6 separate regions of the Homo sapiens genome follow, and regions 1, 2, 3, 4 and 6 are each linked to region 5. Evidence: promoter capture Hi-C in 16 types of primary human blood cells and fetal thymus (Javierre and others, 2016). All regions are on one chromosome and are shown on one strand. The core of a region is centred on a gene start or on the middle of the fragment in contact, and the rest is flanking DNA. Distances in the headings are between cores, read along the strand shown. Region 1 overlaps XRN1 (5'-3' exoribonuclease 1). Region 2 overlaps ATR (ATR checkpoint kinase). Region 3 overlaps SLC9A9 (solute carrier family 9 member A9). Region 4 overlaps SLC9A9 (solute carrier family 9 member A9). Region 5 holds the start of U2SURP (U2 snRNP associated SURP domain containing). Region 6 overlaps SLC9A9 (solute carrier family 9 member A9).

Evidence for each region. Contacts are between HindIII fragments. The CHiCAGO score rates a contact against its expected background, and 5 or more counts as called.
Region 1: a contact is called between a fragment that was not itself captured here and the fragment with the promoter of U2SURP in region 5, in 1 of 17 cell types (naive CD8 T cells). The highest score is 5.2, in naive CD8 T cells.
Region 2: a contact is called between a fragment that was not itself captured here and the fragment with the promoter of U2SURP in region 5, in 1 of 17 cell types (naive CD8 T cells). The highest score is 5.2, in naive CD8 T cells.
Region 3: a contact is called between a fragment that was not itself captured here and the fragment with the promoter of U2SURP in region 5, in 1 of 17 cell types (total B cells). The highest score is 5.4, in total B cells.
Region 4: a contact is called between a fragment that was not itself captured here and the fragment with the promoter of U2SURP in region 5, in 1 of 17 cell types (naive B cells). The highest score is 6.2, in naive B cells.
Region 6: a contact is called between a fragment that was not itself captured here and the fragment with the promoter of U2SURP in region 5, in 6 of 17 cell types (total B cells, naive B cells, fetal thymus and 3 more). The highest score is 16.1, in total B cells.

What each region holds. Positions count from the first base shown.
Region 1 is chr3:142,422,076-142,426,588 of GRCh38, forward strand. XRN1 (5'-3' exoribonuclease 1) reads right to left here. Exons shown (of 41, transcript NM_001282857.2): 4 at 3,354-3,463; 5 at 3,147-3,257; 6 at 1,485-1,567; 7 at 760-847; 8 at 507-675. Among named protein-coding and RNA genes, the nearest start is that of XRN1, 24 kb to the right of the region's middle. The HindIII fragment of the contact is 2,152 bases long and covers 917-3,068 here.
Region 2 is chr3:142,461,834-142,465,999 of GRCh38, forward strand. It overlaps ATR (ATR checkpoint kinase), which reads right to left. Exons shown (of 47, transcript NM_001184.4): 41 at 3,264-3,407; 42 at 107-257. Among named protein-coding and RNA genes, the nearest start is that of XRN1, 16 kb to the left of the region's middle. The HindIII fragment of the contact is 1,709 bases long and covers 2,063-3,771 here.
Region 3 is chr3:143,524,088-143,528,173 of GRCh38, forward strand. The region is part of intron 9 of SLC9A9 (solute carrier family 9 member A9); the gene reads right to left. Among named protein-coding and RNA genes, the nearest start is that of SLC9A9-AS1, 180 kb to the left of the region's middle. The HindIII fragment of the contact is 812 bases long and covers 1,214-2,025 here.
Region 4 is chr3:143,595,081-143,599,344 of GRCh38, forward strand. The region is part of intron 6 of SLC9A9 (solute carrier family 9 member A9); the gene reads right to left. It overlaps LOC124906294 (a long non-coding RNA gene), which reads left to right. Exons shown (of 3, transcript XR_007096123.1): 3 at 1-188. Among named protein-coding and RNA genes, the nearest start is that of SLC9A9, 250 kb to the right of the region's middle. The HindIII fragment of the contact is 1,560 bases long and covers 1,099-2,658 here.
Region 5 is chr3:142,999,702-143,004,051 of GRCh38, forward strand. It overlaps U2SURP (U2 snRNP associated SURP domain containing), which reads left to right and starts at 1,869. Exons shown (of 28, transcript NM_001080415.2): 1 at 1,869-1,972. The coding sequence starts at 1,928. It overlaps PAQR9-AS1 (PAQR9 antisense RNA 1), which reads left to right. Exons shown (of 5, transcript NR_125393.1): 5 at 1,326-1,389. It overlaps LOC100289361 (a long non-coding RNA gene), which reads right to left and starts at 1,766. Exons shown (of 1, transcript NR_034032.1): 1 at 1,144-1,766. RefSeq lists enhancers at 1-307, 1,307-2,306, 1,581-2,230. The HindIII fragment of the contact is 1,896 bases long and covers 1,092-2,987 here.
Region 6 is chr3:143,667,476-143,672,122 of GRCh38, forward strand. All of the region lies in intron 5 of SLC9A9 (solute carrier family 9 member A9), which reads right to left. Among named protein-coding and RNA genes, the nearest start is that of SLC9A9, 180 kb to the right of the region's middle. RefSeq lists an enhancer at 1,943-1,992. The HindIII fragment of the contact is 939 bases long and covers 1,365-2,303 here.

The DNA of each region.
Region 1 (4,513 bases), core at 743-3,242, 580 kb before region 5:
GGCTCATGCCTGTAATCCCAGCACTTTGGGAAGCCAGATCACTTGAGGCCGAAGTTTGAGACCAGCCTGGTCAATATGGTAAAACCCCATCTCCACTAAAAATATAGAACTTAGCTGGGCATGGTGACACATGCCTGTAATCCCAGCTACTCAGGAGGCAGAGGCATGGGCATAGCTTGAATCCAGAAGGCAAACGTTGCACTGTCGCCACTGCACTCCAGCCTGGGCAACAGAGCAAGACCCCGTCTCAAAAAATAAATAAATAATAAAAAAAAGGCAAAGATTAGTTAGATATCAATAATTGAGGTTCGTTAACTCTGTTCACTTTCTTTCCTTGTGAATCACTGAAAATGACAACCTCAGAGGTTAGCACCTTAGACCAAAATAAATCCTCAATGTTTTTCTGCTTTAGCGTGCATGCAATAATCTACTAAACTAAGTCACATTTTTAGGGTAAGGTGGCACTAAATTAAAGTATCCTCGAGAGATTATTAAATTCTTCTTACCCCCAAGTTCTGGCAGGATGGTAACATATGTTCCATAAAGAAGAGGCAGTGCATCATGATTAATATGTAAATGAGGTAGATGAGGGATAAAATCATTACCAACAAGAAACCCCATCAAAATCCAATCATCTATTATCCTTTCAATATCATATTTAAATGTGATCTTTTCCTACAGTAAAATAGAGAACAAAGTCAAATCCAGTGAAAATTTCTGCAATGGAAATCCTTGGTCCATGGCTTTATTAATACTTACTTTTAATACTGAAAACTCATAGTCAATATACTCTCTCATTAAAGACAAGTGTAGAAGGTGAAATGTAGTTTCTTCTGGAGCACATACCCTGGAATTAGTCAGATGATCAAGATACAGTGAATTTTATTTTTAAGGTCCCAGCTTAAAAATGTAACAAAGCTTAAATCAAAAGTATCATCAGAAGATAGTAAGGTCTTGTAATTAAGGCATACAATTTATATGAAGGTTGCAGGGTAACAAAGATAAAAATACAATTGCAATAATAGATAATACATGTTAAAGTTCAAAACAATTGGTTTACATTATGTGTTCTGTGGAAGGATTCTCAGAATTAAGAAGTCCTAAATAACATATAGTAGAAGTAAGAAACTACTGAGATCTGGCCCATTTAAGGCTGGTCTTTTCAACAAATAATGCAAGGAAGATTGGATATCCACATGCAAAAGAATGAAGTTGGGCCCTTACCTTACACTACACACTAAAATTAACTCAAAATGAATCAAAGATCTAACCATAAAAGTTAAAACTTGAAAACTCCTAAAAAAAGAAGAATAAATGAGTTGGATTATAACAAAATTAAAAACGTTTGTGCATCAAAGGACACTATCAACATAGTGAAAAGGCAACCTACGGAATGAGATAAAGTATTTACAAACATGTATCTGTTAAAGAATTACTATCCAGGCGTAATTTCTTTCTTCCAACATATATGCTATATAATTTACCGTTGTGTTTTTTTGCCACCAAATCGAACTTCTTCTCTTAAGAGAGAAAAATGTGCCTCATGACTTGTTAATCCAAGCATAATCTGTTGAAAAATGATTAAGAAATGTTTTTATTCTCCCATTTTTAATAATATTAGGTTCACAAAAGCAATTAAAAAACAATTCTATACAAGGAAGAATAAGAAACAATTAGCACATTAAATATACAAATAACAAAATATGATCTATTTGTAGGTAATGAATGAGATAAAGTGTACTTTTCTAAGAAAAATATGTTCACCTTAGCTCACATGCTTTTCATAACCATTACCCTATCCCCTGTCCCCTCTCCTCTTCCTATCCCTCCAAATCCCAAACATCTTCTCTTGGTTTTCACATATTTCTACTTGCCGTGGGGGAACTGGTTAGAAATTAGAGGCAGCAGCTTTTCTATGACCAAAGAATGCAGGACTCTTTTGGAGACCAGGATAGCCCCAGTATATGAAAACTCAGGAAAAAAAAAAATGGAAAAGAGCACTTCCAGTTAATTTTCTCACATAGTATCTTTTTTTTTTGAGACAGAGTCTCGCTCTGTTGCCCAGGCTGGAGCAGTGGCGCGATCTTGGCTCACTGCAACCTCCACCTCCCAGGTTCAAGCAATTCTCCCTGCCTCAGCCTCCAGAGTAGCTGGGATTACAGGTATCTGCCTCTATGCCTGGCTAATTTTTGTATTTTTTAGTAGAGATGGGGTTTAGCCATGTTGGCCAGGCTGGTCTTGAACTCCTGACCTTAGATGATCTGGCCGCCTCGGCCTCCCAAAGAGATGGGATTACAGGCATGAGCCACCTTGCCCGGCCTCTCACACAGTATTCTAATACCCCAAGTAAGTCAACAGTCTGTTGACACATATCAATCAAACGCCATGTACTTGCATACTGTTTATTTCAATCTTGATTCAAACAAGAAAACAAAATGAAACATTTATGAGGCAATCAGGGAAATGATAATACTAACTGGTTATTTCTATATTAAGAAAAGGTTAATTTCTGTTTTAGGTGGGATGATGGCATTGTGGTTATATATTTTTTCTTAAAAAAACACCTTAATCCTTTAGAGAAACATTATGAAACATATACAAATTAATGATAAAATGTTTAGGATTTGCTTTAATAATCGGGCGGGGAGTGGGTAGGAGGGAGAGGAGACAGATGATTAGGGGTAGAAATTTAAAATTATTTAAGTTAGATGAAGGGTATACGATGTTCATTATATTACCTTTTCTATTTTTGTTTATGCTTGAAAATTTCCATAATAAAAAGTTAATGCCAAAAAGTCTACTAAAGGTATCTGGAGCATGGAGTTTTCAGATAAGGAGGTATTAAAAGCCAAGTATTAAGCCTGAGGGTAAAAAAGCAGCCCCATTTCTCTGACCTTGGCAAAGTATTCACAGCACTAGGATTAGTCACACCTGTAGACTAATTATAGAGATCTGTTGGTCAATAAACTATGGTTAAAAAGCTCATTTTCCAATGATTTTTAGAAATTTGGTAATGATAGAAGTAGCAATCATTATTGTGTCTCCAATATTTGTTGCCACAGCCAGTAAGCTTCCTGTACAAAATGAAATCTCTTAGATATTTAACTATCAATGCATAAGTTTATAATAATAAAAATTATACCTACCAAGTCAGCATCTAAACCATAAAGACAGTGTCTGGTGTTTGGATCATGATCTGGCTTTGCTTTCTCGGATCTGATAAATTCCATGATTTTATGCTCTCCTTCTCCAGGAGTCTAAATAAAATTGTTTTTAAAAATGCAGTAATATGGTATATGCTTGAGAATATTAAATACTTTTTTTAAACTCTTTAAATAAAAAAAGATAATAACCTCATGGCCTGAGAAGTAGATGGTAACTCCTTGCCATGACTTGTCTGTGGAAATTTTCATATTTACAAAATACTTCAGATGTTCATGTAACCTGGCCATAAATTCAGTTCCTAAAAATAATGTTTTAAAAAGGTTAATCTAAGAAAGACATAAAAACATTAAGTTCTCAGTGACAACACATAACTGAATCTGAGTACGCCGGGAATAGCTAGGTAGGTATAGGATCTCCAAAGAAGGTCAAAAGCTCTCTTGCTTATCCTGAAAAACAAGTAATGTACTTTTCCCTTGCAAATATCACAACTGTTTCTAATGTCACTAGTCCCCCTAAATAGAATCAGTGTCACACAGGGAAAGTCAAGGAATTTTACTAGTGTCTCAGCACTGTGCTTCAGGAATTTTCATGTAAGGGCAGAGTTTGAGATCTCTAATGAACCTCAACCTTCTATTTCTTCTGCTGAATTCTGAAGGTTTTTTTTTTTAAGGCTTGCAGCTTAAATCAGATTGTCAATAATAATAATAATATTACTACTGAAATTATTATTCTGAAAAATTATTATTAATTTGGAACCTGAGTCTACAATGATTACATTTTGGGAAAGGCTCAGATGGTCAACAGTCAAAAGCAATACAGTCTAAAACCACAATCAGGATAAAACCGGTTGTTAAACTGAGCAATGTGTGACCAATGCACTTAAAGAAAGGGCAAATTACCACTGTTAGTAAAGAACTGATGAGAAAGTTAGATTTTAAGATTTTCATTCAAAGTAAAGAATTATATGATGTTAGACAAAGGTTGTAGAAGTATATAGAGTATGCTGCTGCATACAAAATTAAACATAATACTGATAAATTCATTTTCCTTAAAGTCATAAAAATCTTAACTAATTTTGAGAAGCAGAGTAGTAAGTGCCCTGGACTAGGAGAATCAGTTTCTTACTCTGACTACCACAATCTAGCTACATCAACTTGATAAGCTACAACCTCACTGAGTCTGTTTTAACATAAATAAATGGCAGGAATAGGACAGAAAGATATATAAACATAAGTTTCTTCAAGGTCTGCAATTCTGTCCACCTGGGAGATTCCTGTCCATATCTGCTCTAATTTATCTACATCTGAAAATCCCTACAGTTTTTGTAGGAGTATTTATGACCAAGGTG
Region 2 (4,166 bases), core at 1,667-4,166, 540 kb before region 5:
ATAGCTTATATCAAAAAACATATGCTAGCATATATTAATACCAATTATACCCATATTATATAACTTAGTACCCACACTGTATATGTATAAGAATTAATTTTAGTACCCTTTTCTTTATATAGTTTGGTCAGAATAGGTCTCAAACCAGCAGTGTTGTTCACCCATTCAATAATCCCACATTCATCATTTAGTGGAATAACTGCATATGTTCGAATATGAAGTTCTCTTCTACGAGACTCTGCATCTTTTCTTAAGCACTGTTAAAAAATACACATAAATTTAAAAACAAGATAGAACTCAAAATTTCTAAATGTTATATCAAATATATTTAAAGATTGTTCATTTCATAACCAAAGAATGTCATTGAAGGCTTACTATGTGGTATACATGAATAATTCTTCTGAATGGTAGGAAGGAAGCTACTGGGACAGTATCTCTAATCTATTTACAGATTATTAAAAATGTCCTGGGTAGGTCCTTCTTTTTAATTATTCACTATTAATGTGACAAGAATATTGTATTTAAAATATTTAAGTTGTATATTTAACAATGACAAAATGCTGCTGTTTTATTTTCTATTGCTTTATAGGTATTACTGAAACATTAAGTCTTTAGGCACAGAGACTGCTATTTAATTTTTCTTTTTTTTTTTTGAGATGGAGTCTTGCTCTGTCGCCCAAGCTGGAGTGCAGTGGCTCAATCTCGGCTCACTGCAAACTCTGCCTCTCGGGTTCTTGCCATTCTCCTGCCTCAGCCTCCCGAGTAGGTGGGACTATAGGTGCCTGCCACCACGCCCAGCTAATTTTTTGTATTTTTAGTAGAGACAGGGTTTCACCGTGTTAGCCAGGATGGTCTCGATCTCCTGACCTAGTGATCCGCCTGCCTCGGCCTCCCAAAGTGCTGGGATTACAGGCATGAGCCACTGTGCCCGGCCAATTTTAATTATTTCTAAAATACATAAACAAAAGAGCATGAGTTCTATGACATCCTCAAAATGTATTGCTCCTCTTGCGGTTTATCACAACCTTATTTCTAAAGCTATCCCTTAGCAGAAGAAAGCCTTACATATTTCATCTGATTGATCCTGATATATCAGGTGGAAATAAACAGTATTATGTTTAATTCTAGACCTGTATGAAGTAAGCACACATCTGTAATTGTAACCTGCTCAATTCAAAAGCACAATCACTGATCAAAAATACATTTTACTTTAGGAAATAGGTTCCATAACTACCAGGAAAACAATATGGCCATAGAATCTCATATAAAGATCAGTGTGTGGCCTCCAAAACTAACATAGTTTTTTACAAAACTATGTTAGTAAATATGTTACTAACTAAGTTAGTATGTCAGGCTATTTTATTTTACCATGTTTATGAGGGAAAATGTAACAAAATACTTTAATTAAAGTAACAAAGCTGATTAATGTAAATTTATAAACTAAAGCCAGGCCACTTGATACTCAAGTAAATCTGATACTCAGAAAAACTCAGGGAGCTTTGGAGAGAACATACTAATGGTTCAGTAGTTAGTGAATTAAGGTACCATTTTAACAAACAATACTTTTTTGTTGTTGTTGTTGAGACAGAATCTCACTCTGTCACCCAGGCTGGAGTGCAGTGGCACGATCTGGGCTCACTGCAACCTCCGCCTCCCAGGCTCAACCAATTCTCATGCCTCAGCCTCCCAAGTAGCTGGGAATACTGGCGTACACCACCATGCCTGGCTAATTTTTGTATTTTTAGTAGAGAAAGGTTTTTGCCATGTTGGCCAGGCTGGTCTCGAACTACTGGCCTCAAGTGATCTGCCCGCCTCAGCTGGGATTACAGGCATGAGCCACCACACCCAGCCCAAATAATATGTTAAAATAAAAAATAATCCTCCTTTTCATATTGCTTTTGAAATAGCTTTTTAATGTGGTATTAATTTTTAAATTACTTTTGGTTAAACCAAGCAGACTATAACTTTTTTTAAAAAACAAACTCATCTACTGCTATATCTTTTCTATGCTAAAGATCTATGACTTTAAAATGTGGGAAGGCAATGAGAAGAAGGGAAAAAAAGCTTGTAGAAAAATAATAAAGTTTCATCTTTCCACAGTATAGATCAATTTTTACCAATGGAAAAAGACATACACTATGCATCTACAAATACCTGGTTACAGAATAATTCAAAATACATAAAACCATACATTTATAATAACCCTTTAATAAGATTCCTCATATCATCTTTGAGATAGAAATCAAATACCAACAGAACTGAAAAAATGCTAATGATTACCTTTTATTTATCTATTTATTTATTTATAAGAGTCAGGGTCTTGGCTCTGTCATCTGGGCTAGAGTGCAGTGGCATGATCATAGCTCACTGTAGCCTCAAACTCCTGGGCTCAAACAATCCTCCTGCCTCAGCCTCCTTAGTAGCTGGGACTACAGGCATGTGCCACCATGCCTGGCTAATTTTTTTTATTTTTTGTAGAGACAGGGTTTCACTATATAGGCCAGGCTGGTCTCAAACTCTTGGCCTCAAGTGGTCCTCTTTCCTGGGCCTCCCAAAGTGTTAGGCTTACAGGTATGAGCCACTGCACCCAGCCTATTTATCTTTTGATAAATATATTAACACAATAGCCAAAAGGTAGAAGCATCCAAATGTCCATCACTGGATAAATAGATAAATAAAATGTGGATGGAAAACAATAGACTATTATTCAGCTTAAAGAGGGAGAAAATTCTAACACATGCTGTAAAATGAATGAACTTTGAATAATGCCAAGTGATTTAAGCCAGTCATAAAAGGAGAAATACTGCACTTATATGAGGTACCTCAAATGGTTAAATTAATGGAGACAAAGTAAATGGTGGCTGCTGGAGGCTGAGGAGAAGGGAAATAGGAAGTTAATTGTTTCATAGACACAGAGTTCCAATTTGGGAAGATGAAAAAAGTTTTGGAGAGGGATGGTGGTGATGGTTGTACAACAATGTGAATGTACTTAATGCCACTGAACAATATACTTCAAAAACTGTCAAATGTTAAGTTTTATGTATGTACATTTTATCTCAATAAAAAAATTAAGTGAAAATGAAAAAGACTTTATATTTCATTCCTGCTTTTTAAGAGTGATCTGTTTGTATACTAAAATGCCTATATCAGATTGATAGTAATTATAGCAACTCTGAAATAAAAGCAATCTGGTTTTATAATAGTCAAAAATTTTTTTAAAATAAAAAATAAATAAATAAAATAAAAGCAAACTATCTCCCAACCTTATTAATCAAGGAATTGAATTCCATTAGTCTACAATCCTTTCTCAGGTCATCTTTTGGCTTACACATCATGATGTAGAACTTTCCATCTGAGCCTTTTAAAGAAATCTTCTTTGGTTTCTGAAGAGAAGCAAGAATTTCCACCTAAAAGATGATGAGTTATATATGAATTAGGGCCAAAAATTTCTGTGTAAATGTCTATATATTATAAACCTTGAGTTATGTAAAAAAAAAAAAAGAATATTACCAGCTATATTATGTAGTGAATTTGTATTTTAAAAATCTTTTATTTTAATTATCTATGACCTATGAAAAGAATGACTGTCTATGAACAGAAACATTTTCACCCATTAAAAATAGCTATGACATAAAAAGATTACTTCATCGCCAATACAAGTACTTACATATTCAAATTTAGACACCCCCCTTCAAAGCAGTCAAAATGTTTAAAAGATTTTTGAAACATCTTTTCAGGATCTTTCTGCGGAGCCTGAGACTCTGTTTTTCAAGCTTTATCAATTAAAAGTAGTTTGATTTTTGAAAAAACAAACTCCTTCAAAATTAAGTGTACCTAATGAAGTGAGTAAATAAGATGAATAATACTGCTTAAATTAAAAACAAAGCATAGACTGGGTACAGTGGCTCATGTTTGTTACACTAACACTTGGGAAGGCTGAGCAGGAGAATGGCTTGAGCCTAGGAGTTCAAGACTAGCCTGGGCAACATGACGAAACCCCGTATCTACAAAAAATTTAAAAAATTAGCTGGGCATGGTGACATGCACCTGTAGTCCCAGCTACTCAGGAGGCTGAGGTGAGCAAATTGCTTGAGCCTAAGAGGCAGAGGTTGCAGTGAGCTGAGATCGCACCACTGTATTCCACCCAACCCGGGCAACAGAATGAG
Region 3 (4,086 bases), core at 370-2,869, 520 kb after region 5:
AAAGGGCTGGGTGTTTCAGAGAAACCAAGTGAAGAGAGGGGTTTTGAAGAATGCTCCTATTATCTACAATGAAAAATGCTACACTGAAGATAGAAAAAAAAAAAACTAAGAGAGATCTAACAGCCTGAAGAAACAAATATGGGGGTGGGGGATGGAAAGGATGACCCAACTCACTGAGATCCAAGACCCTGCTGAGATAGAAGAGGAGAGGGATAGAGGCTGAACTGAGATGGGAGATCAAGATTAATAGACTTCTTATCCAACTGATGGCCTCAGTTGTCTCTGTCAAGCTGAGGGCAAGATGGTCAGTGAATATGGCCAGGGAGAGATGAGAATAGAGAATATGCAGAGAGAGAAACAGATCAGCTTTAATAAACAGAGAAGATCGTGCCGTGACTACATTTTCTTTTTTATAGGTCAATGGCCATTTTGAAAATGTTTGACAGTACTAAAATCAGCTTATGCATATTTTTTTGAAATAAGGCCCTATAATTTAATCTACACTAAATCATTCAGACTTTCCAGAGCCCCTATCATTATGACTAATTTGTTTAGTTAGATTTCTTAAGAGTATACATCTCTATCAAGATGAAGCTATGATTTGAATATGGTTTGTCCCCACTAAAACTTATGTTGAGACTTGGTTCCCAGTGAGACAGTGTTGAAAGGTAGTGACTTTACGAAGTGATTAAAATGGATTAATGTCTATTTTTCAAGATTGGGTTAGTTCTCATGAGAATACGTTGTAATAAAGTGAGCCTGCCTCTCCTGTTTTGCTTCTTTGTACATGTCTATTTCTCCTTCTGCTTTTCTGCCATGTTACGATGCCATAGCATGAAGCCCACATCAGAAGCTAGCCAAAGATGACTGCCTGATCTTGGCCCTCCCAGCCTCTAGAATCATGAGCTAAAAAAGTCTTTCCCTTATAAATTATTCAGTCTCAAGTATTCTGTTATTGCAATGAAAAATAGACTAAGACAATGAACAAAACATATTGAATGCTATATAGATGTCAAAAGAAATAGCGAGCCTAGGCAAAATATGGGTTACCTATGTAAAAAATGCTAACCAAAGGAGGATGAAGTTAATTTAAGAACTAGTTCTTATCTTTTTTAGACTTATGTTAAATGTTATTTCTCTTTTTAAAATAAATTATCATTTAAATTAATACAGATCAACTATGAAAAGACCTCATTGTGAACAGTGAGGACAAAGCTTCTGTAAGCATTGATTATATGCCAAATGATATCCCTGTGTGAGGTAGATTCTATCTGATCCATTTTGTAGATGAAGCCTCTGTGGCTTAGGAAAGTTAAGTGACATATTCAAGATCACACAGCAACTAAGTGGCAAGTGTAGACTCTAATCTGGCTCTGTCAGCCTAGTGACTGATACTTTCTCTAGAAAGTGGAGGTAGCATATGAGTCTCATCTTCCCAATCATCCCACAAGCTGCCCTTCGCTCCATGTGTCTCCTGGGGAAGTATTTCATCATTTACTCTGGAAATAGCATTCAAATGTCATCACAACCTTGCAGCATATTTCTGAGTCTGTGAGTACCAAGGAACATGTTGTCCCTTTCAAACATGCCCCTTCACTTAGATAATGTCAGTGAGTTTTTGTGGAATCTGATTTAAATGTATGCGTAAACAGGAAAGAATGAAATAATCAAAATCCACAGGCTGTGAGAGAAGAAAAGTAAATGATATCTAGTTACATTTATTTGACCAATAATGACAAAAGAAAAAAGAGAAATTAAAATTAATGGGGAAATTCTTAGTTATAACTGTCAAGCAGACAGTGCAGGATACAAAATTGTACATATACAGTTTATTCTTGATAAATGAAATAGCTACAAAAGACTGGAAGGAAAAAAATGTCAAAATATTAGCAGTTACAGTGGTTGCCTTTAGGCAACAGAATTGTCCTTGAGTCTTATTACTCTGTTTTACATCTATGAATATACTATGCAGTAAAGTCATTTTTATAAACAGAAAGATATAACTAAATCAAAGCCATCATTGAAAGCTTTTGGCCAGTGGCTGTGATGTCTAGGTCTTTTAAATCCACAGGGGAAGCTAAACCCTCAAACCACAGTCACATCTTCTTGTTTGGGGAAGATAGTGGGCAAAGCAGATGCCTAGAAGCACCAAAAGGAAGTCTGGAGGGTTTGTTTTCTCCTTCCAAAGAAGGGAGCCATCTGCGTCTCTGCACATGGAAGTTTCAATTCATGTGTGTCACAGCCATGAGGACATGAATGGCTGCCCAGGAATGCTTAGGGGCAGGCTGCTCTGTGGGCATTTGGTAACACAAGAAAAGAGGTGGTAATAGCCCAGCAATTCCAGCTATTTTTAATGCAACTCCAAGCTAATATACTTACTTCCTACATTTTAGCATCTATGCCAGGTTTAAAGAAACAGACCTGCCCCTAATTTAAGAGAAGAAAGGCCCCCTCCTGTCCCCCAAATTGTCCCTGCCATCATCCTTCACAGTGCTGCTGCATCCTGCCTCCTCACAGCAGAGCTCACCTCGAGCAACCAATTCCATTTTAAGGAGACAGAGAACAATTTATTCAACTTCAATTTGCTGAGAGGAAAAACCTCCTATTCTCTAATATTAATTCTTGAAGCCGATTCAAAAACAATTTTTGTTCCTTGCCAGGGTTTGAGGCTTTGAAAGATATTAATGTAGACAGTCTTTGAAATATTAGGAGTTTGCAGCCATTGTGAGGATCCTGAAGTTAGCAAGCATAAAAGGAAGTCTTAGGGCAAAGTATATGTTATTCTGTGTGTTGAAATATATATCAAGCTTCTTGTGGGGTAAGGGGCTTGGGCACCCCTGGGGAACTGTGGACTATATATAGATAAGTGTGACATTCGTTTAAAGCCGATCTGCCCTGTGAGAATGATTAGGTTTACTGGAGAGCTCTATTCTTATTTTAAAGTAAGTTTTTTACATCTCTAGTTCTGAAACACCCTCTATGCAGTTTTAGACATATACGACTTGTCTAATCCACAAGCCTATAGAGAATAGTGATGAGATGATAGCACATTTCGGTGCCTGCATTTCTCTCTCAAAGATTCAATATTTTCATTTTAGCTTTTTATTTTTACCATTTTTCACAGATAGCATGTAATGTATCTCCACTGTTCTTCTTCAAGCTTTACGGTAAGATTCATAAACTTCAGCATTTTAACTGAACACATCAGTCATATTGAAGCACAGTACCTCTAATATGGTTAAAGTGTTTTATTGACACGTGACAAAACTTGACAACTTGTGTTTTTTATTATTAGAATTTTCTAATGGTTCAGGAGAGTAAAAATTAGATAACAGTAGCACAAGGTTGAAGGAACTTCATTAGGTTGAGTTTGTTTTTTCACTTACTTGACTAGTTGTCTTTGTGCCACATAGTATGTGCTTAGTGGCATTGTGTCAAAATTTGTCAGGTCTCATACAATGAAGATATTCCTATAGATTCCCTGCTTCAGTCCATCTTATATTTTATCTTTCTAAAACACAGATGTGCTCATGCCATTGCTTGTAAATCTTGGTTGGTTCCTTCCTGTCTACCGAAGGAAAGCCAAACTGCTTAGCACCACATTCAAGACTCAAGACTCTTCAAGACTTAGCAATAGGTCCACATCCCTCCCAATGTTTAACCCTTCTTCCCTCAGTGCCTCAGCAGTGGGGCACAACCAAAGGGCTATGAGGACCACAGAGAAGACTGCTTTGCAGGAAGCAGTGGTCCAGGTAGAGGTAAGGGGCAGGATTAGTAGGACAGAGCATGGCACTTGATGTCAAGAACTGGGTAGTGTGCACTTGGAACAAGGTGAGAGGCATTGTCACCAGGCTAGGCTGGATCGTGATACAGCCAAGGCTAATTGGCTGTAACTGAAAGTAGATCTTTGGAGAGTAGGAGTTGGAGGAGAAGGAAGAACACTGAAAGCCAGAGAGAAATGGAGAAAATCATTTCCATGTCTTTTCCTCCAGGAACCACTTCCATAGGCAGGCTTTGCAGGAATGACAGTTACTCAATGTAGAGAAAACTGGATATCCCTCTTTTAGACTTATTTTGGGCTCAGAT
Region 4 (4,264 bases), core at 629-3,128, 600 kb after region 5:
ATGGAACCTGGAAGACTTCTTTTTGAATGCATGATTTCTGTTTCAAAAGACACAAGGATATGGGGCAGTGGTTTCTTGTGACTTAAGCTCATCAGCAGAGGCTCTGAGTGGAGCTAGTGGATTTGGCCCTCTTTGCTGAGCTGTTGGGGAGATCCTCCCACAAAATCATATTTCTTTTGGCTTCAGAGTTCAGCAAAATTGAGTATCTTTTTAAATGAAAAATTAATTATACTAAGATGTATTTCACTTCAGATGGTGATGATCCATTTTCTACCAACAATCCTTATCAAGCATCTGCTGAGGCTACCTTATCCAGGGAAATGCTTTGACTTCTTATGAAGAGAATGGTATCTCCCTTCTTTATTGCTGCATTACTTTCAACATTCTCTTTCCTGAATCAGGATTTAAACCAATACATCCTTCAATCTTGCTTAATTTAGTGAAAACAAGATTGTTAGAGTTGTATTCCTCTTGAGTCTCTCAATTAAGATCAGATACAATGCTATGAAAAAACTGATTAGGGTGATGTAGGTGAAGTATAGAAATGAGGAAGTGAGAGCAAGAGAGAGCACTGGACAGAAACTACAAGACTGGCAGAAGCTTGTACTGACTGAAAAATTAGCCATGATTGGCAGGACAAAGGATATATGGGAATAAACGTGGGCAATAAAACAGCAATGAAGATTTCTCTGGGAAGACTCCTTCAAGTGGTGTTTAATCCCCGATCTGGCACTGTTGGGTGTACAGTTGCTTGGTTAGTTTAAATGAGGAACAGGTTTGGCAGCAGAAAGGAGGGAGATGGGACCTACTCCTTGTTGTACAATAGATTCTAATATGCTGCTTTGTCTTAGTAAAAAAAATTAAAATAATCCCTAGTGGCTGGGCTTTGAGGGGGGAATGTTTTTATGTTTCAGTCATTTTTCTGGACCAGGATGAGATGGAGGGTTTTTGCAATATGTTTCCTATAGCCTAGGGCAAAAACTTTCTCCGTGGGCTTCTCTATGTCGTCTGAGTGATGAGAGGGAAACAAACCAGGGTACGACATAGTTTAGTAAAGCCTGGATCACATGAAAATTTGGTGGTAAATACATACTCTAAAGCTTTAGGGCCCATAGCTAAAGAAAAAAATTTTGGAATAACTTTTTAAAAGAGATTTGAAATTTGTGAGAGATAAAGCAGATAATATAAATCCTAATCTCTTCTCAACGTGTGTGTGTGTATGTGTGCGTGCACAAACACACACACACTCATACACAGAGAGATACACACACCTGGGTCATTTCATCAGGTATCAGAGTTCTTTGGAAGTGAGTGAAGGATTTTGGTTTTGATGGATGTTCTTGCTATACTCAAGGCTTTTTTATCTGTAGCCTTTTTGAAGTTTTATTATTTCCATAAGTTAATATTGATATCATTTTTCGGTTTCCTCATAGATAGATCCTGTCGAATTGTCTGGCTGTTTTTATCAAGGATATGGTCTATGGGATCATTAAAATGATGTGACATCATGCTTACAGAATATTTTAAAAACTCATTAAAAACTCAAAATGCAGGGTTTCTCCCTACAATGTATGAAGTCTTTTTCTTTTTCTTTTTTTTAAAGACAGGATCTTGCTGTGTCACCCAAGCTGGAGTACAGTGGCATGAATATGGCTAACTATAGCCTCGACCTCCTGGGCTCAAGTAATCCTCCTGCCTCATCCTCCCATGTAGTTGGGATCATAGGTGTGCATCACCACACCTAGCTAAGTTTTATTTTTTGTAGAGATTGAGGTCTCACTTTGTTGCCCAGGCTGGTCTTGAACCCCTCGGCTCAAGCAGTCCTCCTGCCTTGGTCTCCCAAAGTGCTGGGATTACAGGTATGAGCCACCACACACCCAGACCTTGTATGAGGTCTTAAACATATGTCACGGTAAATCTTTTTTTTTCTTCTATGTTCCTCTTCACTTACCTTCTTCATGTTCAGTAAAAAGAAAGTGCCAGAACATATAGCATGAGCCATTGTAAGATACATGGATGTGCTTTGGTTAAGGAAAAGGCCGAGGCGGATATCCAGGCGAGTATGAGTCAGCAAGTTTGGTGCGCAGGCACACACCTCCACTTATTATATAGCCTGTTCGTGTAAGTTCATGCTTGGCTTGGAGCCACTATTGTCTGTAAAAGGTATAACTGTCCTGCTGACTCTGTGCACGGGGCTTAGCTCTTGGGGGGCTCGGCTCGGCTCAACACGGCTTGACATGGTGGGCACGCTGGCGTCCAGAGAAAGAGAGAGCCAAAGCTGTCCTTCTTGCAGACAGACAGGAGGGGGCCAAAACACAGCTCAGGCTTGTTTGTGCTCAAAGAGAGAAAGTTAAGCTGTTGACCCTGAAGGCAAGGGAGAACTGGCCTCGCAACCTTGCGTGGGGGTGGCCAATTCAAGCAGCTGAGACAGAGCGGACAGCGTAAGAAAAGCTGCTCAGGAGAGAGGTAGTTTAAGAAAGCTGTTGATGAGAGCTGCTGCTGAATAAAACCATATTCACCCGCCTGTGGCCCCCCGAGGGTTCTTTCTGCTCATCCACCCACTCCCCTCGGACTTCAGCATGGTGTGGACCTGGACCCCAGGATCTGACAGCCATGAAAGATGTTGTTAATCTCAGAATAGAGTTAAGAGGAAATTAAAGCTTACTTTTAAACTATTTTACACTTACTGGCAGGCAGGAGCCAAGTGGTTCCTATAGTCTCAAATGTAGAGATTTATCAAAGCTGTAAGGAAGGTATGGCGCTAAAAGGTGCAGAAAACTGGCTTCAATTAACATTCTAATCATCACTGTCAACGCCATTATGCAACTCTGTGTAGAGTGGCATATTCGGCACTGTGGGGTTAAACATAAGCAGTGGGCGCTGCCTTCCCTAGAATCGCAGTATCGAGAGCTGTTGTCAACAGCTCAATTCGGGGCCTGCAGACAAAAGGTTCTGTACCCACTTACCAATTCCCTGAGCTCTCCAGTCCCTGGTAAATTGCTTTTGAACACATTCTCAACTTTTATCTTTTTTTTTTTAAATGAAAATGTTAGTGGGTAAAATCCAGTATAAGGGACACATTATTCTGAGAGCATAGCTTTCCCTACCGATACCAGCGTCATTTCCACTGCTCTGTAATAAGTAGCTGCAGCTGTTGCCATGGCGATTTTCATTTTTAAAAACTGTATCCATACAAAGACAGGCAACGCAGCTGTTTCCATGAAGCATCACGAAATAAGCCCAGATGTAATGGCACTCCTGTCTTTTTCCAGAATTAAGGAGATGTGTCTAAAAGTCCAGGTAGAGCCAAAGGATGGGGCTGTAGCTGTGCCTTGAGAGGAGCCTCCTGCTTTCACTTGAAGCTCAGGACACTAATGGAGGGTAAATTAGTGGCGCTAGTGAGCGTTCAATTTCTACCCAGTTTTCTCAGGCAGATTCTTTGTACCAGTGAATCACTATTTACACTGTGATTATAACTTCCTCCAATAGCCTCCTTTGAAAAAGACACCGTCTTCCTCCAAATCCGCACATGCTACCCCGGAACATTACAAGAACAAGCACTGCTGATGGGGCTCAGTACTTGTTTTTCTGAAGTCCCGTGGCCTCCTACCTACATGTTATTAAAATGCTGCAAGCAAGCAAGTCAACACAAGTTTTTAAAATCATTCTCCACTTTCCAGTTAGAGGAAGCGTGCTGCCTGCTGCTGCCCTTGTCCTTTAATATGGAGGGAGTTTGGTTTTCTCTGTGTGTGGTCTGGTAGGCACCAATAAGGACAAAAAGATACCTGTCAAGCTCACCATTTCCTGAACAATGGTATTATCTTTCTCAGGGAACAGGAATCTTTTGTTTGTTTCTATTTTTGTTTTGAGGCCATTGATTTGCTAGCCAAGCCAGATGCTGAAAATTATGTAAGTAGAACCCACAGGTCGCCTCAATCCCTCATTCTAAACAAGATTCAAATGAGTTACCCCCTCACTGACCTGGAGAGCTATTTCTTCTGTCACATAGGTGCAGTGCACCAGATGGGACTGTGGCAGAAGAATAGTTAGGTGAAGAAAGCCTACCGTGTGCCTCATGGGGAAAGGATTTTAAAAGAAATTATATTTCCTGTCCATAGTCCTCCATCTCATATAACTATTTAACTCGTAAAAAACATAATTATGTTTCTGAATTTCTTTATATTTTGCCAATCAGTTACAGCTATTTTGTTGTTACTAAGAGCATTGAATTATAAACAGTATAAAACGCCAAATGCTCAGGAAT
Region 5 (4,350 bases), core at 619-3,118:
CTTGGAAACAGAAGGGTCTCTGATTTAGGATTGGTGGGGAGGGAGGACTGTAAGCCTTCCTGGAGGAAGGGACATCTTCACCCAGAGTAGAATTGGATTAGACTTCAATGAGAGGGCAGGGCAAGGTTGAGGGAAGAGGCCCAGAACTGAAAAAGTATGACAGAATCCAGCAGTAGAAGTAAATTGAATTGGGTTGGAGGGTGCAAGTCATTCTAATTTCATGTGTAGCACTTGTCACTTTCAGATCATTTCTTGTTTACTGTCTGTTCTTCTACCCTCATACCCTCACAGAGAATAGGAGGCCTGGCCTGCTGATTCCTTAGTGGCTGGCATATATGTCTGTTAATCTTTCTTGAGAGCCAGCCTTGTGTCAGATCCTGTTCTAAGTGCTTCCCTCGCTCCCCACCCCCGCCATTCAACAAAATTCTACTTCTTCAGAGCTGGTTCAAATGCTTTCTTCTCTATGACCACCCCCCCCCCTGCCCCGCCCCGTCTCTTTTCCTCACTCCTACTCTCAGAATTAATTACTTCTTTCAGAGGTCCCTCAGCTATTGATCCTTCCTTGCAGCATCAATTTAATTATGCATAGTGTCAGTTTGCGGTTTCCTTGTCTCCTCCATTTCTCATTAAGTTTTAAATCATATGAAGACAGTGCATGTTTGTCTGTCTCTGTAAGCCCTACAACACTTTGGGCAGGCTTTTACACACAAAACGGGGCTCAAAAATATTTTGAATAAATGATTTAGGGAGAGGTCCACAAACGCCCTCCACTCCCACCCTAGTCCTCAGAGCAATACTTTAAAATAAAAATCTGACCATTTCAACCTTGTTAAAGGCCGATCTTCATTCTGAGAACAGAATTCTAACTCCTAAGCACGATGGTGACCTCAGGGCGCTGTGTGAACCTGCACCCGCACCCCTGTCCAACCACGTCCCTCCCCACACCTGGTCTAATAAAACGACTGCTTTAGGTGACCTGCACGATCGGCTGTACTGATTCATGCCACAGGCTTTTACCTCAATTACTCCCTCTGTCTGGAATGTCCTTTCTTTCCTTGCCTGGCCTGATTCGGGCATGGCCTTCTCAAGCAAGCTTTCCGTCTTTGAATCTAGGCCCTGATTAAGAACTTTTTAAAAAAGTACTAAGTTCAGAAAAGTTTAATATGGTGTTCCCCCATTTATGTGATTAAAAATGAAAACAATACTAAAGTGTAAAATGTAATCTTTAAAATGTCACACAACTTTACATGCATGCTAGATTTAGAATACCATCTGTATTTACGATTTTCTCTTATTGACTGTCTCCACGCGCACCCACTCTGCAGACGCCCTAAAGAGTGTCTATCGGATCACCCTCAAGTTGGGTCAAACGGCTCCTCTTCTCGGCTTTTCGGGAGCAACCCTATCTCAACATTCACCATCTTAAGATGAGCAGACTGCAAGTTTGCCTCTCCCACCAGTATGGGAGCTGCCGAAGCGGCAAGAACAGCGTTTCCGTCCATCGAGCGCCAGGTCACCAGTCAGCTCCAGTCCTATTTTGAGTTGAAGTAAAAGCTCCTCCCTAGATGGCCAGTGCACGTCTTTAAAAAGCGACTCCTTTCCCACAAAGGAAATACGACTGGTTCGCATCTATCAAGGGTTGGCGTTGGGATAAGAGGGTGAAGTATCAGCTGGCCCTGATTCTCTGAATTCCCGGACCCAATAACGCGACCAAGCACCGTGACTCCCAGGAAAACTAGCGGAGTGAGCGCGGCTGAGGAAATTACTGACACCGGAAGTCACGTGAGCGGCTGCCCCTAAGGTCGCTATCTCGACAGTCGACTATTCAGCCTTGCAGGCGCCTCTGGCGGGCTTCACTGAGATCCGCTCTTTCGGTGCTCGACTCGCCCGTGCTGCTGCCGCCGCCGAAGGAGGGGCAAAGCTCAAGATGGCGGACAAAACGCCAGGCGGATCTCAGAAGGCCAGTTCAAAGGTAATTTCTGACAAAATTTCGTAAGTCAGCGGATCTACCACTGTCGTTTGGGGCCCACAGACGCTTCTGGCCTGTGAGAGGCGATTGGGATTGGGGTCTGCATTCTAGTCGCGACGGTAGGCCCGGGCGCCGCCGCACCGTTGTGCGCAGGTTGAGAGGCCTGGTATCTCCCCATAGTCCCAGCCGGGATTCAGCTCGAGACTGGCGTGCCCAGTGGGTGGAGGCGTGAGTGCTTCGGCCCGCGCTTGGCATTGGAGTGAAATCAGGAATTCAGATTGAGGTCTGAAGCAGTGAAAACGCTCTCCTGTATCTCAGCTTCCTGCGCCCTGAGGCCGCCAGACAGCGCCTGGGAGAGAGGCGGGAATCGCTTCCCGGTGCTTAAATGTCTGCTGCTTTTTTCTCGGTTTTGGATCTCACTCACTTCCGGCCTCCCTCAGTTTCCCTCCAAGGAATGAATAACCTCTAGGGTCGCCAGCTGTGAGGGGAGGACCACTAGGGCAAAGACACGGAGTGGGAAATGCAGAGGCGGGAGCAGCTCTCCTTTGCAGTGCTGCATAGCCAAGGTTAATGTACAGTCTACACGTGGTCTTTACCTTAACGGGAAGTAAAAAGCACTTTTGAGGGTAGAGGACTCGTGGTCTCTTTCTTTATGTTGAAGAAACAGTGAAAAGAGAAGCTCCGTAGACTTGTAAGCTACATACGATTAGTAAATTGCATTTGTGTTTACAGGGAACCCTGGGCACGTATTGTGAAACCAGTGAGCTGTGGTAGTAGTTAAGCATTAGTACGGTTGGGTTCTTAGTTGCCATCTTGGGCGGGACATTTAATCGTTTTTTGGTTTGGGTTTCTGGTCTCGAATATATTAAAAGTAATTGGTACTGCCACGAGGTAGTTAAACTTTCCGATGCTGATGCAAGAAGCTGTGTAACACTTTCAGGTGCTAGGGACTGTTAAATCTTAAAGAGTGTGTGACTGTAAATCGGCTATTAGAAAGTTAAATTTACGGTAGGAGAGAAGCTTGCGTTTACAGTTCTGAGAAACATCATAACTCGTTTTCTACTTGCTTTCTCTAATCCGACTGTTTATGCCATTTGGTGAACGATGTACACCAAAATAATTAATTCATAATTAGTAATGGTCTTAACAGACATCGTTTAGTTACATAGAAACTTTGGTGAGGGGCCAGTTTCGGCTTCTTTACAAGGTATTGTGTCAGTTTTTTTTCCCCCTCCTCAGTACATTTTCTCGTCTCCCTCTCTTTGGGGGCGAGCTCTACCAACTCTTCTCAACAGACTCCTGACAAGAACATACCGTTAGGGAGCTATTACTAAAGCTAGCTACGTTCATAACAAGTCGTGCATAAGCCTCACAATTTTTGTTTCTTCTCAAAGTAATATTTTAAGTATTCCCTACTTGAGGTCTTGGATACATTGAAAACATTTCAATGTCTGTGTTCAGGCTTCCTTCTAAAATAGTGCTTCTCATGACTGAATGTATGGCTGTTCTCAATAAATAAATTATTGGATTATCCAGTAATCTTTTCTGTTTATATTGCCTTAGATTATAATCTCTTGATGCTATTAGCAGATTTCTTACTGATGTCTGTGAAAGGAATCAGAATATCTTAACTAATTTGGAGGCTGCATAATGTAGTGGGAAGATTATGAATTTTGTTAACAAGAGATTTGGGTTCAAATCCTGACTTGGTAATTAATTATATTTGCGATAATAAGGCAGATTGCTTAAACTCTGGAGCCTCAATTCCCTCATTTGTAATGTAGATATAATTCTTTTTTTACATGGTTGATATAAGGATCAAATGAGATAATGTCTATGAAGTACATAATAAATCTTAATTTCTTTCCCCTCTTTTTGTTTTTAGAGGAAATCAAAAGTTCTTAGCTTTCAAAATGTCAGGATAAATTTTAATCCTGTGATTTGGAATCTAAGTCATCAGCTGTCATAATGACTGCCCAGATAGCTGCTTTTTATTTATTTTATTTCTTTTTTTTTTTTTTTTTTTTTTTTGTGAAAGAGTTTCGCTCTGTCGCCCAGGCTGGAGTGCTGGAGTGCAGTGGCACAATCTCGGCTCATTGCAACCTCCGCCTCCCGGGTTCAAGTGATTCTCCTGCCTCAGCCTCCCTAGTAGCTGGGACTACAGGCGCCCGCCAGTACGCCCGGCTAATTTTTTGTATTTTAGTAGAGACGGGGTTTCACCATGTTGGCCAGGATGGTCTCGATCTCTTGACCTCGTGATCCACCCGCCTCAGCCTCCCAAAGTGATGGGATTACAGGCGTGAGCCACCGTGCCCCGCCCTGCTTCCCTGCTTTTTATTTCTAACACATAATTTATTAGAGAAATTGTAAGATCATTTTGG
Region 6 (4,647 bases), core at 584-3,083, 670 kb after region 5:
CAAATGGGATCTAATTAAACTAAAGAGCTTTTGCACAGCAAAAGAAACTACCATCAGAGTGAGCAGGCAACCTACAGAATGGGAGAAAATTTTTGCAATCTACCCATCTGACAAAGGGCTAATATCCAGAATCTACAAAGAACTTAAACAAATTTACAAGAAAAAAATCAAACAACCCCATGAAAAAGTGGGTGAATGATATGAACAGACACTTCTCAAAAGAAGACATTTATGCAGCCAAAAGACACATGAAAAAATGTTCATCATCACTGGCCATCAGAGAAATGTAAATCAAAACCACAATGAGAGAACATCTCATGCCAGTTATTATGGCGATCATTAAAAAGTCAGCAAACAACAGATGCCGGAGAGGATGTGGAGAAATAGGAACACTCTTACACTGTTGGTGGGAGTGTAAACTAGTTCAACCATTGTGGAAGACAATGTAGCGATTCCTCAAGGATCTAGAACCAGAAATACCATTTGACCCAGCAATCCCATTACTGGGTATATACCCAAAGGATTATAAATCATGCTGCCATAAAGACACATGCACACGTATGTTTATTGTGGCACTATTCACAATCGCAGACTTGGAACCAACCCAAATGTCCATCAATGATAGACTAGATTAAGGAAATGTGGCACATATACACCATGGAATTCTATGGAGCCATAAAAAAGGATGAGTTCATGTCCTTTGTAGGGACATGGATGAAGCTGGAAACCATCATTCTCAGCAAACTATCACAAGGACAGAAAACCAAACACCGCATGCTCTCACTCGTAGGTGGGAACTAAACAATGAGAACACTTGGACACAGGGTGGGGAACATCACACCCTGGGGCCTGTCGTGGGGTGGGGGGAGGGGGGAGGGATAGCATTAGGAGATATACCTAATGTAAATGACGAGTTAATGGGTGCAGCACACCAACATGGCGCATGTATACATATTTAACAATCCTGCACGTTGTGCACATGTACTGGAACTTAAAGTATAATAACAAAAAAAGTAAAAATAAAAAAAGAAAGTAGCATTTTAAAAAACCACCTCCCAATAAATAGCCTATAAACACTTTCACTTCCTTTTTTGAATAGAACTTTTTGGCTAAAAAGTTGATTATCACTGGTATTAGTTTGTTCATCTGCGCATTTGTCAATGCTTTTGATAGTTTCTGGAAAGCAATAGGCAATTAATTCTGTTTACTGAATAAATGAATTAACAAGTGAATGAATCTCTGAAGGTCACCCACCATGTGGTTAGCTCCTCGAGGATCAGAACAGCTCCTTTTCTCCTGTATTCTGCCCTCGTAATCAGGAACTTCTTTGCCCACTCACTGACCTGACAGAACTTGTTTCAAAAAGCTTTCTCCATTTCAGTGCAAAATAATAAATTGAACAACACAATTCCTTGTCTGTAGCACCCAGACAAAAGGTCAATTCTTGTCCTTTCTTGGCCGCTTTTCAAGAAATCCTGCCCAAGAGGCACCTGTGAGTCTTTATGGAACAAGAGGACCAAATCCCAGTCTGAGACTAGTGGCTGCTCTCCCATCCTAGGTACCTTTCTCTTAAGAAAGCACTCCCTTTTAGGGTTGTACAACTGCTGATCCTGCATTTACATAATCCAGAGAGTGAGTGCCTTCTTAAATTTTACTCCCTAGTTGCCTCACTCTTCCATGGTTTTGACCTCATCAACTTGGCTGAGTCCTAAAAAGAACCAGACAGCAAGGAAATACTCTCTAAGAATTACTGAATCCAATTTGTCTCAATGTACAATGTCTTCTTTAACACATAAATGGAATGTGTGGGCTGGACACTGACTTTCAAAACTTCCATCCTATACGTCTTTGAGCATTACTGAGAATAAACTGCTTTCATTTAAACGGAGACATTCTGTTCCCCAAAGCAGTGAGCCAGAGAGGTCTGTCAACCACAGCTGTTTCCCAGCTGTCCATGGAGCTGTTGAACTGCTTCAAACGGTTTTCAGTATGTTCTCGAAATTTCATCTTCAGAACACCTGGAGCCTTGCTTGATCCACTTTCAACATCCTGAAGCATTTATATAGTTGGTTGTTATCTATTATTGTGTCCAATTCTGTTCTGGAGGTGACTTTCCATAACTAGCTTCCAACTTCTGAAGCAAGACCTTTGTGCCAAGACCTTGCTATTTACAACTCTGTACTAAAGTAGAAAACAGTGGTTGGAAACTTGACTGTGATGTCAAACCAACCTGTGTTCTGATCAGACCCCAGCTGTTATGCAAATGAACTTGGTGATCTTGAGCAGGCTACTTAACCTCATTAAGCTTCAAGTAAGCTTCCTTGGTAAAATGGGGATAAAATAATCCCTTCTTCAGGTTTTTGGAGAATAATTAATTGGAGTTATTTATGCAAAATGTTTGGCATATTGTAAGTGCTTCATCAGTGGTGGTTACTGTATTGTTATTGTTCATGCCATCAAAACTATTAGTGGGTCAGTCCAGTATAAAATGGAATGACAGTTTCTACTTGTTTTCCTTTAACACTTAAAAATAACTTCAAATGAGAAAAAGTAGATATTATCAAGCAGAGAAATGTTAAAAACTCTTCTCTATCTCTCTTCCTTTCTCACAAATTACTCCCTTGAACTTCTGTATTTGGAAAGAACAGTTCCTATTCTGTGTCCATTTACTTTGTCTTTCTGAGTCTTAGGGTCTTCATCTAAAAATGAGGATGTTGAGCAAGATTGTCTTTAAGGGCCTTCCACATCTAAATTTCTATGGGTCTCACTCCAAACTCCAAACTGTAGTCTCCAGATGTGGAATGTGTATATTTTCCAAATCATGCGGATGGAGCCCTGATGCAGTGCTGGGATCAAGGGTGTGCTTTGCAGGGTTACAGAGCAGCATGTGCAATGGGCAGAACAATGTCAAGAAAAGTGATCATGAGTTTAACACTTCTCTGCATGAATGAGGGGAGGGCTGTCATAATTTCAAATGCATATGCCCTTGTTTTGACTGTGACTCTAAGGGTTACCAAGACAGGACACTCCAAAGAGTATCTGAGCCCAGGGAGACCTTGCTAATGTTCTGCAGGTGACGTCGTCTGTGGCCCTGGAGAGAAACATGGCTCATGGTTCTTCCAGCTGAGCTGTTATCTTCTTCATCTGGGCAAAATATTGGCTTGAGGTACAGGAGACCTTAAGCTTTCTCAGAGCCTTCTCCCCACCAGGTGGTACTCTGTGTTTACAAAGCTGCCTGGATTACCTCTGTCTTGTCTTTTAGACTACTGCCAGTTGTCGTATCTACCTCCCTCTTTAGACTGGGAGCATGCTGAGAGCAGAACCTGTGTCTGGTTTATTATCCCTTCCCTCAGTAGCTCCTACAGTGCCTATGACATAGCAGGCAATGAACAAATGTTTGTTAAATAAAATCAATTATAAAGTGGGAACTTGACTCTTGACTCTTGGATTTCATTTTCTTCCAAAGCTTGATTGGCACATCACTGTTCTATTTTGAGAAACAGCAATGGTGTAGGACAAAGAATATTGGACCTGATTTGTCTCCCATCTCTGCCACTTACGAGCCTTGTAAATGTACCACTTAAGTTTTTAGAACCTCTGTTGCTTGGAATGGAGATAATTGATCGGCTGTGGTGATGATCAAATTAGATGATATATTTGTACACATTTAGTTAATGGCTGCTATCACTAGATAACATACTCTCTAGTAGACGTATTCAGATGGAGCTTTTAATTTGCTGCCAATCCGTGGCTTTGGGTTGCTTCTACATATTGATTCAAGTACAGCCATTGCTTCAATAATTTTAAGCTGGCTGCAAGTTAGCAAAAGTCAGTTTTTTTTTCAGATAGATGTTAGTGTTTAGTATCTAGCAAAAACACAGTCTAGAAATCTAAGGAAACAGAATTCCTAGCTTCCATACCTATATTTCATTAACTTGCCGTGAAACCTTGAGATAATCTTAAAATTTGCTGCACCTCAATTATTTCACCTAAGAAATGGGTCTTCTCTACCCAAGAACACAATGTGAAAATAACTGAAATACTGTCTGTAGAAGCTCTTTGAGCTCTTTGAAAGAGTCAAACAATATAAATCAAAGCTGTTATTTTTATTTCTGAGTAAATTTGCTCAAGAATAGAATTGAGGTTTATATGATGGAGTTTTACAGACATAGGTTTATGTAGAGGGTTTTAAACTGATGCTATTCCATTGTGCTTAACACTGAATTGTAAAGACACAGAAAATACAGCCAAGTACTGTTAAATGACACTGTGTGCAGGTTTGAAATGCAGATTGCATAGTAAAAATGGCTGATACGTCTGTGCTCTCTAGAAGCCTGCTGGCTTCAGTGGGAGGTACTCTGGTCTAACATCCTCTGACTCCCTCTGAGGTGTAATTTCTCCCCCCTTGGAATTCAATGAAAACATATGAATATCTCTTACTGCTTCTGTTCTCTCACAGCAATACCAATGCAATCTTTCTCTACCAAATATTAGATGCTAAAAGTAGAGTCATCCAACTTTCTTTATAGATGACAGAGCAAATAATTCAGGAACACAAACTTTATACTATATGAGAGCATTTTTTGCTGTTTATAATATGGCATAAAACCATCTTGATCTCTTCCTGCTTAGCCGATATTAAATGAA